Regions from separate parts of the Homo sapiens genome. Here region 2 is linked to region 1. Evidence: promoter capture Hi-C in 16 types of primary human blood cells and fetal thymus (Javierre and others, 2016). All regions are on one chromosome and are shown on one strand. Each heading gives the region's core, a stretch centred on a gene start or on the middle of the fragment in contact. The rest is flanking DNA. Distances are from core to core; before and after follow the strand shown.

Evidence for each region. The method cuts DNA at HindIII sites, captures the fragments that hold promoters and counts their contacts. A CHiCAGO score of 5 or more calls a contact.
Region 2: a contact is called between the fragment with the promoter of SNRK here and the fragment with the promoter of NKTR in region 1, in 6 of 17 cell types (total B cells, naive CD8 T cells, total CD4 T cells and 3 more). The highest score is 9.1, in total B cells.

The regions. Positions count from the first base shown.
Region 1 is chr3:42,598,250-42,605,074 of GRCh38, reverse strand. NKTR (natural killer cell triggering receptor) reads right to left here and starts at 4,389. Exons shown (of 17, transcript NM_005385.4): 1 at 4,297-4,389; 2 at 4,011-4,091. The coding sequence starts at 4,068. It also overlaps a transcript of SEC22C not described here. RefSeq lists a silencer at 4,086-4,295. The HindIII fragment of the contact is 13,164 bases long and covers 1-6,825 here.
Region 2 is chr3:43,282,956-43,290,592 of GRCh38, reverse strand. It overlaps SNRK (SNF related kinase), which reads right to left and starts at 4,053. Exons shown (of 7, transcript NM_017719.5): 1 at 3,918-4,053. RefSeq lists silencers at 880-1,107, 3,519-3,568, 3,809-4,208 and an enhancer at 3,813-4,313. The HindIII fragment of the contact is 7,817 bases long and covers 1-6,092 here.

The DNA.
Region 1 (6,825 bases), core at 3,140-5,639:
GACAACAATCCTAAATATGTATGTACCCACCTAAGAGCCTCAAAATGAATGATGCAAAAACTAAGAGAACTTAAAAGAGAAATACGGCCGGGCATGATGGCTCATGCCTGTAATCCCAGCACTTCGAGAGGCCGAGGCAGGTGGATTGCTTGGGCCCAGGAGTTCAAGACCAGCCTGGGCATCATGAAGAAACCCTGTCTCTACTAAAAATACAAAAAATTAGCCAGGCATGGTAGCTCACACCTGTAGTCCCAGCTACTGGGGAGGCAGAGGCACGAGAATCACTTGAACCAGGAAGGCAGAGGGTGTGGTGAGCCAAGATCATGCCACTGCACTCCAGCATTCCAGCCTGGGCGACAGAGCAAGACTCAGTCTCAAAAAAAAAAAAAAAAAAAAAAAAAAAAAAAAAAAAAAAGGAGAGAAATAGATAAATCCACAATTACAGTTGTTATAGTTGCAGACTTCAATACTCTTCTCCTGGTAATCAATAAACAAGTAGAAAATCAGCAAAGATATAAAAGAATTGACCAACACTAATAGCCAACTGGATTTGACATTTATAGAACACACTACACAAAAATGTACATTCAAGTGCAGAATGTACATTCAAGTGCACAAAGAACGGAAATCATGTGTGTTCTCTAGCCATAATGGAATTAAATTAAAAGTCATTTGAGACTGTCTCAAAAAAAAAAGGTATCAAATCAACAATCTATGCTTCAACATTAAGAAACTAGAAAAAGAACAAAATAAAAATTGAAGCAAGCATTAGAAAGAAAGAGAACAATGAAATTGAAAACAAAAATAGAAACAAAATTCAATCAGATCAAAATCTGGTTCTCTGAAAATGTATAATGAATAAACCTCTCGTCAGACTGACAAAGGAAAAAGACAAAAGGAAGAATTATCAATATCAGGAATGAAAAGAGACACCACTACAGACCCCACAGATATTAAAAGAGGCTGTGACAAACAACTCTAAGCACATAAACTTGACAACTTAGATAAAATGCACCAATTTCTTTAATAAAAACCACAGGCTAGGCACCGTGGCTCACACCTGTAATTCTAGCACTTTCGGAGGCCGAGGTGGGCGGATCACTTGAGGTCAGGAGTTCAGACCAGCCTGGCCAACATGATGAAACCCTGTCTCTAATAAAAATACAAAAAAATTAGCCAGGGGTGGTGGCACATGCCTGTAATCCCAGCTACTAGGGAGGCTGAGGCAGGAGAATCGCTTGAACCTGGGAGGCGGAGGTTGCACTGAGCCGAGATGGCACCACTGCACTCCAGCCTGGGTGAAAAAGTGAGACTTCGCCTCAAAAAAAAAAAAAAAAAAAAAGTTGTGTAAAATCCACTATTTAGTTAATATACTCAAAAAGTGCTAGTTATTTCACAAGACTGAACCATATGAAATTTCCAACTATCAAATGATTAAACCTAGAACAATGTAAGCATTGCATTTCCTTGTTTTATATGATTCGGCGTTCTCAAGAGTGCTAATCACATCTACACATCTATCACAATGAATTGCCTTGGATGTTGAGGAATGAGGTTCATTGAACATTTGTCAAACATATTCTGGAGATTTTTCACAACACAGGTTATGTGCAAATCTAGGATCTGAACATTTACTAGGAAAGGAGTACTTAACTACAGAAATTTTTATTTGTACTTTTTCTTAAGCTGTTTTTTTTTTTTTTTTTTTTTTTTTAGAAACAAGATCTTGCTCTGTTGACCAAGCTGGAGTGCAGTGGTGCAATCATAGCTCATGGCAGCCTTAAACTCCTGAGCTCAAGCCATCCTCCCACCTCACCCTTCCAAGTACAGGTGAGCACCACCATGCCTGGCTAATTAAAAAAAAATTGTTTTTTGTAGACAGGGTCTTGCTATATTGCCCAGGCTGGTCTCAAACTCCTGGGTTCAAGCAATCCTCCTGCCTGGGCCTCCCTAAGTACTGGGATTACTGGTATGAGCCACCATGCTTGGTCATACTTCTACTCTTCAGCAATCTACTATTTTTCTTTTCTTTTCTTTTTTTTTTTTTTTGAGACAGGGTCTCACTCCGTCACCCAGGCTGACATGCAGTGGTATAATCTCTACTCACTGCAACCTCTGCTTCCCAGGCTCAAGCAGTCCTTCAGTCTCAGCCTCCCAAATAGCTGGGACTACAGGCAAAAACTAAGAGAGCCACCATGCCCAGCTAATTTTTTTATTTTTTGTAGAGATGGGGTTTCGCCATGTAGGCCAGGCTGGTCTCGAACTCCTGACCTCAAAATGATACACCCGCGTCTGCCTCCCAAAGTGCTGGGATTACAGGCGTGAGCTATTTTTAATTCTTAATAGAAAATAACCCTGTTATCTAAAGCATGGATTCACTACAAAATAAAGATTAAGGTCCATCAAGGCTTTCTAGTAACACTTATTTAAAAAAAAAAAAAAAAAAGATCAATCAAGGCTAAAAACATTAAAAAGAGAGAGAAGGCAACCAAATTTCCAGGATTATCTCATCCCTTTGCTCGAAACCCTTTAATATCTTCCTACCTCACTGAGTCAGTCCTACAGGCCATTTCTTACTATTCTCTTTCCTCTTCTACTCCAGCCACACTGGGCACCCTGCTGTCCCTCAAACATGCAAGTACAGTCCTCCATTGTTTAATAACCAGGACGGATTCTGAGAAATGTGTAATTAGGCAATTTCGTCATTGTGTGAACATCATGGAATGTATTTAAACACACCTAGATGGTACGGCCTACTACACACCTAAGCTATATAGTCTATTTGCTCCTAGGCTACAAACCTGTACAGGATGTTACTCCACTGAATACCGTAGGCAACTTTAACACAATGAAGTATTTGTATATCTAAACACAGCTAAACATTAAAAAGTTACCAAAAAAAGGTATTATATATAAGACCATTGTTAAAGATAGAAATGTCATTTGGCGCCTGACTGTATACTACTCCTCACCTCAGGGCTGTGCTGTTTCCCTCTACCACGAATGCTCTTCTTAAATACGGCTCACTTCATCTCCTTCTGATACCTGCTTAAATCTCATCTTCTCAAAATGGCCTTGTCTGACCAACTTATTAAAATAGTATCCCAACTACAAGTCACTGTTATTTTTTTCCTAGTTGTCCGTCTTCCCCCCAATAGAATATAAACTATAAAAGGAAGAGGCCTTTGTTTTATGCGCTGCTCTATCTCCAGACCCTAGAACAGTAGCAGGCTCTCATAAGAATATGCAGAACAAGATGTTGCACAAAGACAACACATATATATATGTCTCCAATTAAAACTTTTGTCACGGATAACAAAAAAAGCTAAGAAAACAGTTTGAAACCCTGCACGCTCTGCTACTTAGAATGAAATAACTATGCTTTAGAAGGAAATGTTTCATTTAAAAAAAATACACTAACAAATGTCTGGATTCCCTAAAGACAAACATTAATGCTAAGTGCATGCATGCTGCAATTCTGCTGGTACAAAATGCTCTGGTTTATCACAAAAGATCTTCACTAAGCCATTTTCCCAGGAACCACGAAATTCTAGCTAAAGATTCTTAAGGAAAAATAGAGGCAAAATTAACATATTAGTGATATATCGTGATTAGGAAACACACAATATTTCCTACTAGTTGAAACTTCATAGCACCAAGCAAGATAACCGGAAATCGGATCGGGAGTGTCTGCCTCACGGAGACACTGGGAGAGAAAAAGTCCTCAAAGAACTGCACCTCCTTTTCTTGGCGCCAGGCTGGCTACGAGGACTCAGTCCGGAGATGCAGCGGGGTGTGTGGGGTTTGGCAGGAAGAGGCCCGGACTGCGAGTTAGGGGTGTGCCCAGGCCACCTTCCTCTCCCACTGATTTTCTCTCAAGAGAAAACGGAAAGTTGCCTGCGCCTCCTACCCGCTCCCAAAAAGGCCGGGGGAGGGTTGCTGAGGGTAGACCCCTCCCCTTCGCCAAGGCAGGCCTCGGCCCCAGCAGCGCTCCCCAGTTTCCAGCTCACCCGGCTCCCGGTTGATCTCGATGTCGAAGTGGCACTGCGGCCGGTCCTGCGCCCCCATCGCGACCGAGGTGGCGGCAAGAGCTGGGAGAGAGGGGGAGAAAAGCGGTCAGGGCAGGGGCGAGGGCGGGGGCGAGGGCAGGGGCGAGGGCGGGGCTGAGACGAAGTCCGCGCCACGGTGCCTCACGCCGGCCCGTCGCGACAGCGCAGGAGGCCAAGACGAGGCCCCCTCCCGCCCCGGGCCTCGCGGCTCCCACGCAGCGCGCACGCATGCGGGCGAGCTCTTCACCTGGCTGGCCTCCAGCCTGAGCGGGTCCCCGTGAGCAGAAGAGAAAGCACTGCCACTGCAGCCAAACCCCAACGCCGCTAACGGAACGCCGTCTCCTCCCCCAGGCCGGGCCTCCCAATGCCACGCTAAACCCCGCGAGAGTCGGGACAAATACCGCGAGAGTACAGTCTAGATGGGGGTGGTCAACCGAAGGTGGCGGCAGCGGGGGCGTACGCACGGGGGCGTACGCACGGGGGCGTGTCTGGGGAGCTCTCGAGGAGCCTCCAGCCAGCGCTCCTATACCTGCGCGTTCCCTGTTTGCCCCCCCCTTTGAAGTCAGTCGCCCAATCTGAAAGCCGTGGATGCGCCTGCGCCCTCCATCTCGTCAGGTGTGGCTGTGAGCGCCGCGCATTTTCCGATACCGCGAGACTTCTCTGTTTCCGAGCGCTGTGAAGGAACTGAGTGAATTGAGGCTTTGAGTTTTCGTTAGCCAAGACGTTGTGTTGCTCTGTGTTCTTTTTGGCCGGGAGTGGTTATGTCCGTGTCCTACTGTTAGGTCTTTTAGGCTGAAGAATGCGTTCCTTCCCGCTTTGGCACCAGCGTCACTGGCACCGTTTTTGTCCTGTGCTTACTGACCATTCTGCATCTTTTGTGAAGTTTCAGTTCCAGTCTTCTGCCCGTTTTTAAATCTGGTCCTTCGTGTTTAACAGTTCTGGATACAAATGTTTTGTTAGATATATGTATGCTCTGAATGAAAATCTTTTGTTACATAAATGATTGCGAAGTCTTTTTCCCAATCTGGGCCTGTCGTTTCATTGTTTTGACGTTTTTGGCAAAGAAGTTTTTAATTCTGATTAAGTCAATTGGTCAGTTTTATATTTTAATGGTTTGTGCTTTTCCTGTGCTAGGAAATCTCTGCCTACCTCAAGTTCTTGAAGATATTCTGTGTTCTCATATATGTTTTACATAGTCTTTAACGTGTAAGTCTATGATATGATCTAATATCATTAATTTTTGCTTATGTTGTCAAGTAAGTGTCAACATTTTCCTATTGGGATATACAGTCGTTCCATTACCGTTTGTTGAAAAGACTCTTTTTTTTTTTTTTGAGACGGAGTCTCGCTCTGTCGCCCAGGCTGGAGTGCAGTGGCGGGATCTCGGCTCACTGCAAGCTCCGCCTCCCGGGTTCACGCCATTCTCCTGCCTCAGCCTCCCAAGTAGCTGGGACTACAGGCGCCCGCCACTACGCCCGGCTAATTTTTTGTATTTTTAGTAGAGACGGGGTTTCACCGTTTTAGCCGGGATGGTCTCGATCTCCTGACCTCGTGATCCGCCCGCCTCGGCCTCCCAAAGTGCTGGGATTACAGGCGTGAGCCACCGCGCCCGGCCTGAAAAGACTCTTATACATTGAATTACCTTCGCCTTGTGACCATATATGTGTGGGTCTGTTTCTGGATTTTTGTTCCAATGATCTGTGTCTGAGTACCACACTATTTTATAAGTTTTTTTTTTAAACTATAAAATACACATTACATGGGCGGGCGTGGTGGCTCATGCCTGTAATCCCAGCACTTTGGGAGGCCGAGGCAGGCGGATCACGAGGTCAGGAGATCGAGACCATCCTGGCTAACACGGTGAAACCCTTTCTCTACTAAAAATACAAAAAATTAGCCGGGCGTGGTGGCGGTCGCCCGTAGTCCCAGCTACTCGGGAGGCTGAGGCAGAAGAATGGCGTGAACCTGGGAGGCAGAGCTTGCAGTGAGCCGAGATCGGTCCACTGCATTCCAGCCTGGGTGACAGAGCGAGACTCCGTCTCAAACAAAAAAAATCTATCTATAGATCTATAGATCTACAGATATCTAGATATCTATAGATCTATAGATATATATACACATTATGTGAAAGTTGCCATTTTAACCATTTTTAAGTGTACAGTTCGCTGGCATTAACTGTATTTCACACGGTTGTACAACCCTCAGTACCTCCCATCCGTCCACAGAACATTTTCCATCTTGCAAAACTGAAACTCTGTATTATTAAACAGTAACTCCCCATTTCCCTCTTTTCCCAAGTTCCTGGCAGCCACCCTTCTACTTTCTCTCTGTAAATTTGTCTACTCTAGTATTTGTCTACTCATATGTGAGTAAAATCATGTAATATTTGTTCTTGTAGGCTAGGTGCGGTGGCTCACACCTGTAATCCCTGCACTCTGGGAGGCTGAGGCGGGTGGATCACATGAGGTCAGGAGTTCGAGACCAGCCTGGCCAACATGATGAAACGCCGTCTCTACTAAAAATACAAAAAATTAGCAGGGCGTGGTGGCAGGCACCTGTAATCCCAGCTACTCAGGAGGCTGACGCAGGAGAATCACTTGAACCCGGGAGGCAGAGATTGCAGTGAGCCGAGATTGCGCCACTGCACTCCAGCCTGGGTGACAGTGCGAGACTCTGTCTCAAAAAAAAAAAAAAAAAAATTTGTTCTTTTGTAGCTGGGTGATTTCACTCAGCATGTCTTCCATTTCATCCATGTTGTAGCATGTCAGAATTTCCT
Region 2 (7,637 bases), core at 2,804-5,303, 690 kb before region 1:
ACTTAAAAATGAGGGCAGCTGGTATATGGGCAGTGATGATAAGGATGTTGTGGAGGAGACACATTTTGGAAGTAGAATCCAAGAACTCAATGCACAGGAGGCTAAGCAAAGGGAGAAATCCAGAATGACTCTAGCGGAGAGTGGTAGCTGGTGATGCCATTCTCTCAGACTGGACTTTCAGGACAGGAACATCTACAACATGCTAGCAGAAAGTAGAGGATTTGCTTCTAGTTCTAAAATTGTATGATTGAAAAACAATTCAAATCCAACCCAGCTTTATTAGAAAGGGTGTGGTTTCCATAACAAGCTGATAAAATCAACAAATTAAAGATTAGATTTTTTTACCTTCTTCACCAAGACACTTCTTGGTACAGACTATGTACCCGGCATTACTTGGGTCTGATAATGTACAGATCAAAGAAGTAGTCTCTGCCTTCAAAGAGCTGACAGTATTATGGGTTTAAGAGAGATAACTGCAGGTCAACAATTAAGAAATTGAGGCCCAGTGAGGCTGCGATTTGACCACCGTTATGTTGTGTAATCCAGGTTCCTGGAGCATTTTTGTCATAACCTACATTAAACGGTCCAGGCAAATATTAGTCAAGAGGGTATGTGTTTAGATGTGCAGATAGACCTAATCTTGCTTTGGGCCTGAAGATACTCCAAAACTTAAAACATGTTAGATGAACAACTAATGATCTCTGAGTCTGAAGTAACTTTTGAGTAGCCACATGGCAGCAGACTAGGGGGCATAATAGCAAAAGGAAAGGGAAAGAGGCCTGATTTGCCATGGAACAGCCTACCTGAGCAGAGGCCAAATGCTGGGGATGCCAAAGCAGACTCTCAGGAGGCTCTGGAAGTGACAGCAGAGAAATAAATGTTCAGGGAGGGCAAAGCAGGAATCCTCTTTAGACAGGTTCCTTCCCTACCACCAGCAAGAAATGGTTTCCCATGAGACACAGAGCCACAACCCAAAGCAGATGTGCAGAAAAGCAGATGAGGATCAATGACGTAGCTCTGGATTATCCAGAGCAGACAACACAGTTCCAGTGCTCACTCGTGAGGCCATTAAATCTGAGGAATTTTATACCAGCTCTTCCCAAAGTTAAAACAAAACAAAACAAACACCTCACCAAAATCCTTCTCCTCCATCCCCCAAAGCAACTGCCCCATTTCCCTCCTTCCTTTTCAAATGCTTTAAGGAAAGAACAGTTGCATTGTCTCAGCCTTCTCAACTCCCTTTCACCCACTTGGATCTATGTTCTTCTCCCACCCACCACTTGACCTTGTCTTCTCACCCTCCCTGAACCCCCTGAGCCTTTTCCCTTTTTCTCTGCCTGGGAATTCTTCCTATTCTTCAAGACCAGTTTAACCATCACCTCCTCTGTGAAGCATTTCCATGTCAGGTTGTTCACTGCCGCCATCCTTGTGCTTCTGCAGGTTTTTCCCTATGCCTCACCACAGTTCATCTGTTCGTACTGTTACTGTTTACCTTGGTGTTCCCCAGTAGCTTCTAAGAACCTACAGTCAGGAACTGGTTTTTATTCACTTTTCTACTGCTGCCCTCCCTCTACCCTAGGGCCACCAAAAGAGACACACAAACATTCCATGAATAAATGATCAAAGGTTAAGTTTATCTTCAGAACTGCTAGGATCCACTCAATTTTTCCACCTAAGTTGTTCTAAGTTTACCTGCACATAGATACACACTGGGAAATACCTAAATTCTGAATAACAGTTTTCTTACTAAAGCATCTTAGTTATAAACACTCTATCTTTAAGCAAACAGCTGGGATGCAGTTACATTAAGTCTAGAGTTTCTCATCTACGGTTTTTAATTCCTAAGATTCTGGCCTATGGAAAGTTCATTTGTACCCTTTTCTTCTTGGGCAGTGTAAAGAGCTCTTAGGATTAGACAAGCTGCTACAGGGAAGAAATCATGTCTTATTTATACCAGTACTTAGAACCATGGCTGCTCAGTATCTCCAGAAATAAATATTTTTCTATTTGGTTTCACTTTCTGTATGAGGGAAGTACTCACAGTGAAGTTCAGATGAACAGTATTTCCTGTGACCAGTAAAAATATCACGAAAGCCCTTCAATTTTAATAAGGACATTTAAAAGCCTTTCTTTTAGGATTATGTGATTAAATCTAAACCATAAAGACCCAACCTATACTTCTGGTCTAGAAAAATAAAATTAGTACAACTTCTGAGTTCTAGCATGTTTTAGACTAATGGATCTTACTGCAGTAAAACAGAAAAAAATACTCAGAATTATTAAAAAATACGGTGAGAGTAATTTTTGTGCACAAAATGAACAATTAAAAACTGATTATACAAATTTAAAAAAAAATTGAAAGGTGGCACTGAAAGTTTCCTGCCTGAAAAGCCTTCAGGATGAGAGTATTATAAAAAGTTAGCACTGTGCACCTGACTTTCTACACTGCTTCAATATGTGACCTTGGAAATGTCATGTAATTTCTCTCATTTCTAGTTCTGTAAAATGGGAATGTCCACCTGTTCTCCTCTCAAGGACAATTACACAGATAATCAGATTAAAAATTTGGTATTTGGTGTTCTTTAAAAAAAGAAACTTGTCTAATTAGTATGCTTTAATCATCACTTGTACAGTACATTCCTCTTCAAGAATCCAATTCCAAGAGAAATATTTAAGCAGACGTTGAGGACAGATTTCCTTAAGGGAATTATTTTATAAATCTGGAAAGCAATGTAACGAGATTATAAATTAACAAACTGATTACATAAGCCTTGACAACCCGGGCTTTAAAGTACACTGCTGTATATATTCTGATAAGTTAAAGACTGGTTTGGGACATAGTGCTCCAATCCCATACAAGGAGCCCAAACTCAGGCATTTCATGTTTGATAGGAACTTGGTGGAGATTCAACAGGATGTCCAACACTTGCAAGCCATGCTTCACCTTAAAACCTGACAAAATGTTTAAGGCATTAAGTCAACTTTACCACGGTTCCTAAGACTTTAAGAATGCACATAATTAAAGGGAAGGGGGGTGGAAAGTAACATGACAGTTTGAAAGGTCCCATATCCTCAGACCTCTATAGATTTAGGAACTCCACTGCTAAATTCTCCCCAAAGCCTGAAACTCCCTATGAAACTACTGGACTGTATGCGATCCAACAGTTACAAATAGCACAGCTCCAAGAACCCCGAAGATAAAAGGCTGCCACTTTCCTGCAACCCAAGTCCAAGTAAAAGGCAGGAAGGTCCCTGTAAAATGGACCAGAAAGAAATCAACAGGCGATGACTATGGAAAAGAACGTAGATTTCCCAGTCTCCCAGTCTGCAAAAATTCTAGCTCTCCCTCGGGAATGGCACTGCTCCTCTTTCCTTACCCCTTTGCCCTTTCTCTACAGACAACATCCCCACTCTATTGTAAAGCAGTTTGACCACGGAACCCTTTTGCTGAGGCCGGATTTCTACAGTCTTCTGAAAGGGGAAAACGCATTCAAAGAACACACACCCTACCAAGCGCCCAGGGCGCGGGGCCCCGCGGGCGCCGCACTCGGCCCGCTCCGGGGCGGGGCGCGGGGATGCGGGCGCCTTCCGAGGTGCCGCAATCCCGCCGCGGCCGCAAGGGCAGGGCCTCCAGGCGACCGCGGCCGCCGCCGCAGTGACGGCTCCCGCCGGGCCCCGCCGCCGCCCCGCCGCCAGGCCGCGCCGCGGGGTCCGGGCCACCGCAGCCCGGGCCCCGCGTCCTCCCGGGCCGCGCGCTGCGGCCGGCGCCGAGAGCGCAACTTACTTTCCGCCTGCGGCGAGCGCCCCGGCCCGGGCGCCCAGCCCGGCAACAGCGGAGGCTACTGAGGCGGCGGAGGCCGGCCCCGCACCCCTGCCTACGGCCGCCGCGCCCCGCCGCGCTCCGCGCTCGCCCCTACCTCAGCCGGCAGGCGAGCGTCCGTCCGCAGCGGCCGCGGCGCCGACAACTCCCTCCCGGCCGCCGAAACCCCGCACCCAGCGCTAATCATAATACCGAGCGGGCTGCCGGCCGCGGGGAGGGGGTGCCGGGTAGCTGCGCCTGCGCGGGCTGCGCGTCACTGTGACGTCAGCGCTGGGGCGGGGCCGCGGGAAGGGCAGGGCGGGGCGGCGCGCACCTGCGGCCGGCGCGCGGGCTGCTGGAGGGCATCCTGGCGGCTTTCTGACCCCGGCGAGTCGGGGCTGAGGCGGCTGGCGGGACAAAGCGGGCAAGGCGCCCAAGGAGGATGGAGGACGGGGGAGGAGGAAGCACCAGGGACACGGAACAATGGCCGGGAAAAAGTAGCGCGAGCTGTCAGGGGAAATCGGAGGGAAGGGACCGCGTCTGTACAGGACTGCGTCTTGGCGGCAGGGGGCAGGGAGCCGCACGCGCTTTACTCTTTGGTTCCCGCCCAGGTTTAAACAAGGATAAAAAAATTGTAAAAATACATATACATACACACATGCACATATGTATATACATATATATACATAATATGATTTTTTTCTCTGTAGTTTCTTCTCCCTGGGACTCTAATTTGAAAAAATTCGGTTGATTTTGTTGTTATTTAAGCAAAATTGGAAAAGCCCAACATCTGAATGCAGTGCTGGCCTTAAAGGTCAGCGGGAGACACAGGCCCTGCTAGGCAGCCTCTGGCAACAGCATAGAAAAGTAAACGGTCGTGGGGACACATCAAAGCACGTGAAGTCAGAGATTCAAAACACGCCGGGCATTAACCATAGCCCTTGATGGTTCAGTGGTATGGTCGCCAGGCCAGGTTGCTCTGGAAGGGAGCTTAGGGATGGCCGCAGAGGGTGGGAGGGGACTCCCGACTCCCACCCCTGGAAGCATGGCATGCAATAGAGACCAGCTCTTCAGGGTTCCTGGAAGGGAACACCAACAAACCAGACGCCAGATTTCTTCAACCTGCTTTTCCCCTTCTGTTCCCACGTTGTGTCCACCCTTCCCCAAGAAAGGACCCCTAGCAAGGAAGGACACAAGCCAGAAGAGCTGCGGAGATGCTGCAGGCTTGGTTGAATTGACTGGACTGCGAAGAGAAATCTAGATGGTTTTAGCAAATCTCTGTTGACCTGCAAATGTCAAAAGCCTTTTAGCTTCTATGCATCAACTTTGCATGTCTGAAGATGATTGGGAAGCAGGAGTGGATTGTTGGGAGGTGCAAACAGTTTGATTCTTAGGGTAATAACATAGGGTTTTCTGATCAAGGGGACTCCCAGTTACCCTAATACCCTTGCATCAGGTGGTGGGAGAGCACCAGGGAAAGCCTCAGATTAGGCCTCTGCGCCTTAGGGTCCCACCTGGGATCACTCTGACCTGAAAAGACCATAAAAGAGTCATCTCATTTTGACATGGAAATCGTAACTGTAGCAGCATATTAAGCAAGAGCTCCTAACTTGGATTTGTAGAATTTGTCCTTTTGTTGCTAGAAATCAGGAAGACCATGCACTTTTCTCCTCAGGGAGATATCACTATTCAGGGAACTCTGTAGCCAACTAAAGGGAGAAAATACCACTGTAATGGTCTCCCAAGGGATTTCCAGTGGTCGAAGGCCTCCACCCCTGGGTCTGTAGTCCCTGAGTTATATCAGTAACTACAGAACAATGACGATAATATATAAGCTCTTGAAAAATAAAGTATTTATATTGCTGCTGTTTAACTAGGTTTTGAATAAATTTTCTAAGGAAAACAAGGCATAAAAGAGCAAAACAAATGAAAAAGGGCAAAATAATAAATTGATTTAAATGAAGTTGGCTGCAATACTCTTCTAGAGAAGGACGCAGTACTGGCCACATGGTAAATCATTTATTCATCCCCAGTATTTCTTGGGTAGCTGAAGTGCTGCTGGCAAGAATATGACCCAGTTTTGGTTCCACACCATAAATGTGGTGACATGATTTGATTATGCTTCGGCAATATTTTAAGATATTCAAGTACAAATTAATAGTATTACTTAAGTTGGAATTTAAGCAAATGTGCTTATAGTTAATGAAGAAACTCCTTTTCCACTCTGCCCTGGGGCTTTCTCCAACACACTGCTTTTTTAATGTTGGGTCTTTTTATGGACCTGTAAGAAGCTTTAATTAGATGTACAGCATTCTACAAAACGACAAGATGAAGCATGCTTGCTTGTATTACAGTCTCTGTGATTCAGATCTCAAAAATAACATAATGCCACCAGTTTAAGGAAGATGTTGTTTATTGGAAGGAAACCAGGGAGGTGCCACAAATTAGATCAAAATGTGAAAATTGAGCAGACTGATGAAAGAATTGTCATTTTCATCTTTGGAACCCCAAAAGCAGCATATGTAACAAGGTTATCTTCTCTGGATATTGTTAGTTTTTGTAATTTATTTCAAATTTTAAAATAAATGTATTTAAAACAACAGACATTGAATATTCATACACAGTTCAATTTTGAGTTGTGACATTTTATTTAACAACATTCCCTTTTACATATTTAACTAGTTATTTCATACATTTATACTTGTGCATTTCTAGATCCTGGCTTCACCCCAGTAGGATCAAAATAATACTTAATTGGAATGACCTAAAGAGTTCCTCAAAGACTCCTTCACCACCCTATGGGCATCAGTTAACATCTTCTACTCTTTTATCTCAGATGTCAGTTAAGGTCCTGTGTGTGTGTGTGTGTGTGTGTGTGTGTGTGTGTGTGTGTGAGAGAGAGATATTTCTGATAGTTGCAAACAAGAATTGGAAATGCCAGTCCTTAACTCTGCTTGTTTGCAACCAGTGAACTAGAAGATAGGACAGACATTGACATTTAACCCCATCTCTACTGCTAAGAGCAAGATGGCTTTGGGAAAGTTGCATAACCTTCTATATGTTTCTTCTGTAAAATGAGAAAGACAGTGATGATAATAATACCTTTCTTATAAGTTTGATGTAAAGCAGTGGTTCTCAAAGTGTGCTCCCTGGACTAGCAGCATCAGCTTCTCCTGGGAACTGGATTGAAATGCAGATTTTCCAGTTCCACCTCAGACCTACTGAATCAGAAACTCTGATTTCTCTGTTTTAAGACTTGCAGGTGATTCTGAGACAGATTAGAGTTTGAGAACCAGAGTTGATGAGATTGAGTTTATATAAAGTATTAGAACAAAGGCTGGCATATAGTAAGCAGTATATTAATGAATATTTTTTAATGTGTGCAATATGATCTTGCCAAAATATGCAAAGTCTAATTTAGGCCAAAAGAAGCATGTCCATGTTGTTCTTTCAGCAAATAAATCCTGATAAATCCCTTATCTAAAAACGTCAATACAGCCTACCAAGCCCTTCCTGATCTGGTCCCTGGCTTCCTCTCCTGCACTTTCTTTTCTGCATGTGTACCCTGTCTCCAGCCTTCCCAGTTCTCACAAAGAGAATTGACTTTTCACAATTCCCAGTCTTTGCCTATTCTGTTCCTTCTGTCTGGAAATGTCACCTACTCCTTTTCTCCACTTACTACACCCGCAGTTTCCTGAATTCCTACTTACCCATCAAAATCCAGCTCCCATGTCACATCCTCTGTGCTACTCCTAACTGTCCCACTCCAGTCAGAGCCAGGAGTTCTCTGGGACCCCCATACCCTCCCACTCATAGTATCATACAGTTTTGTAATTTT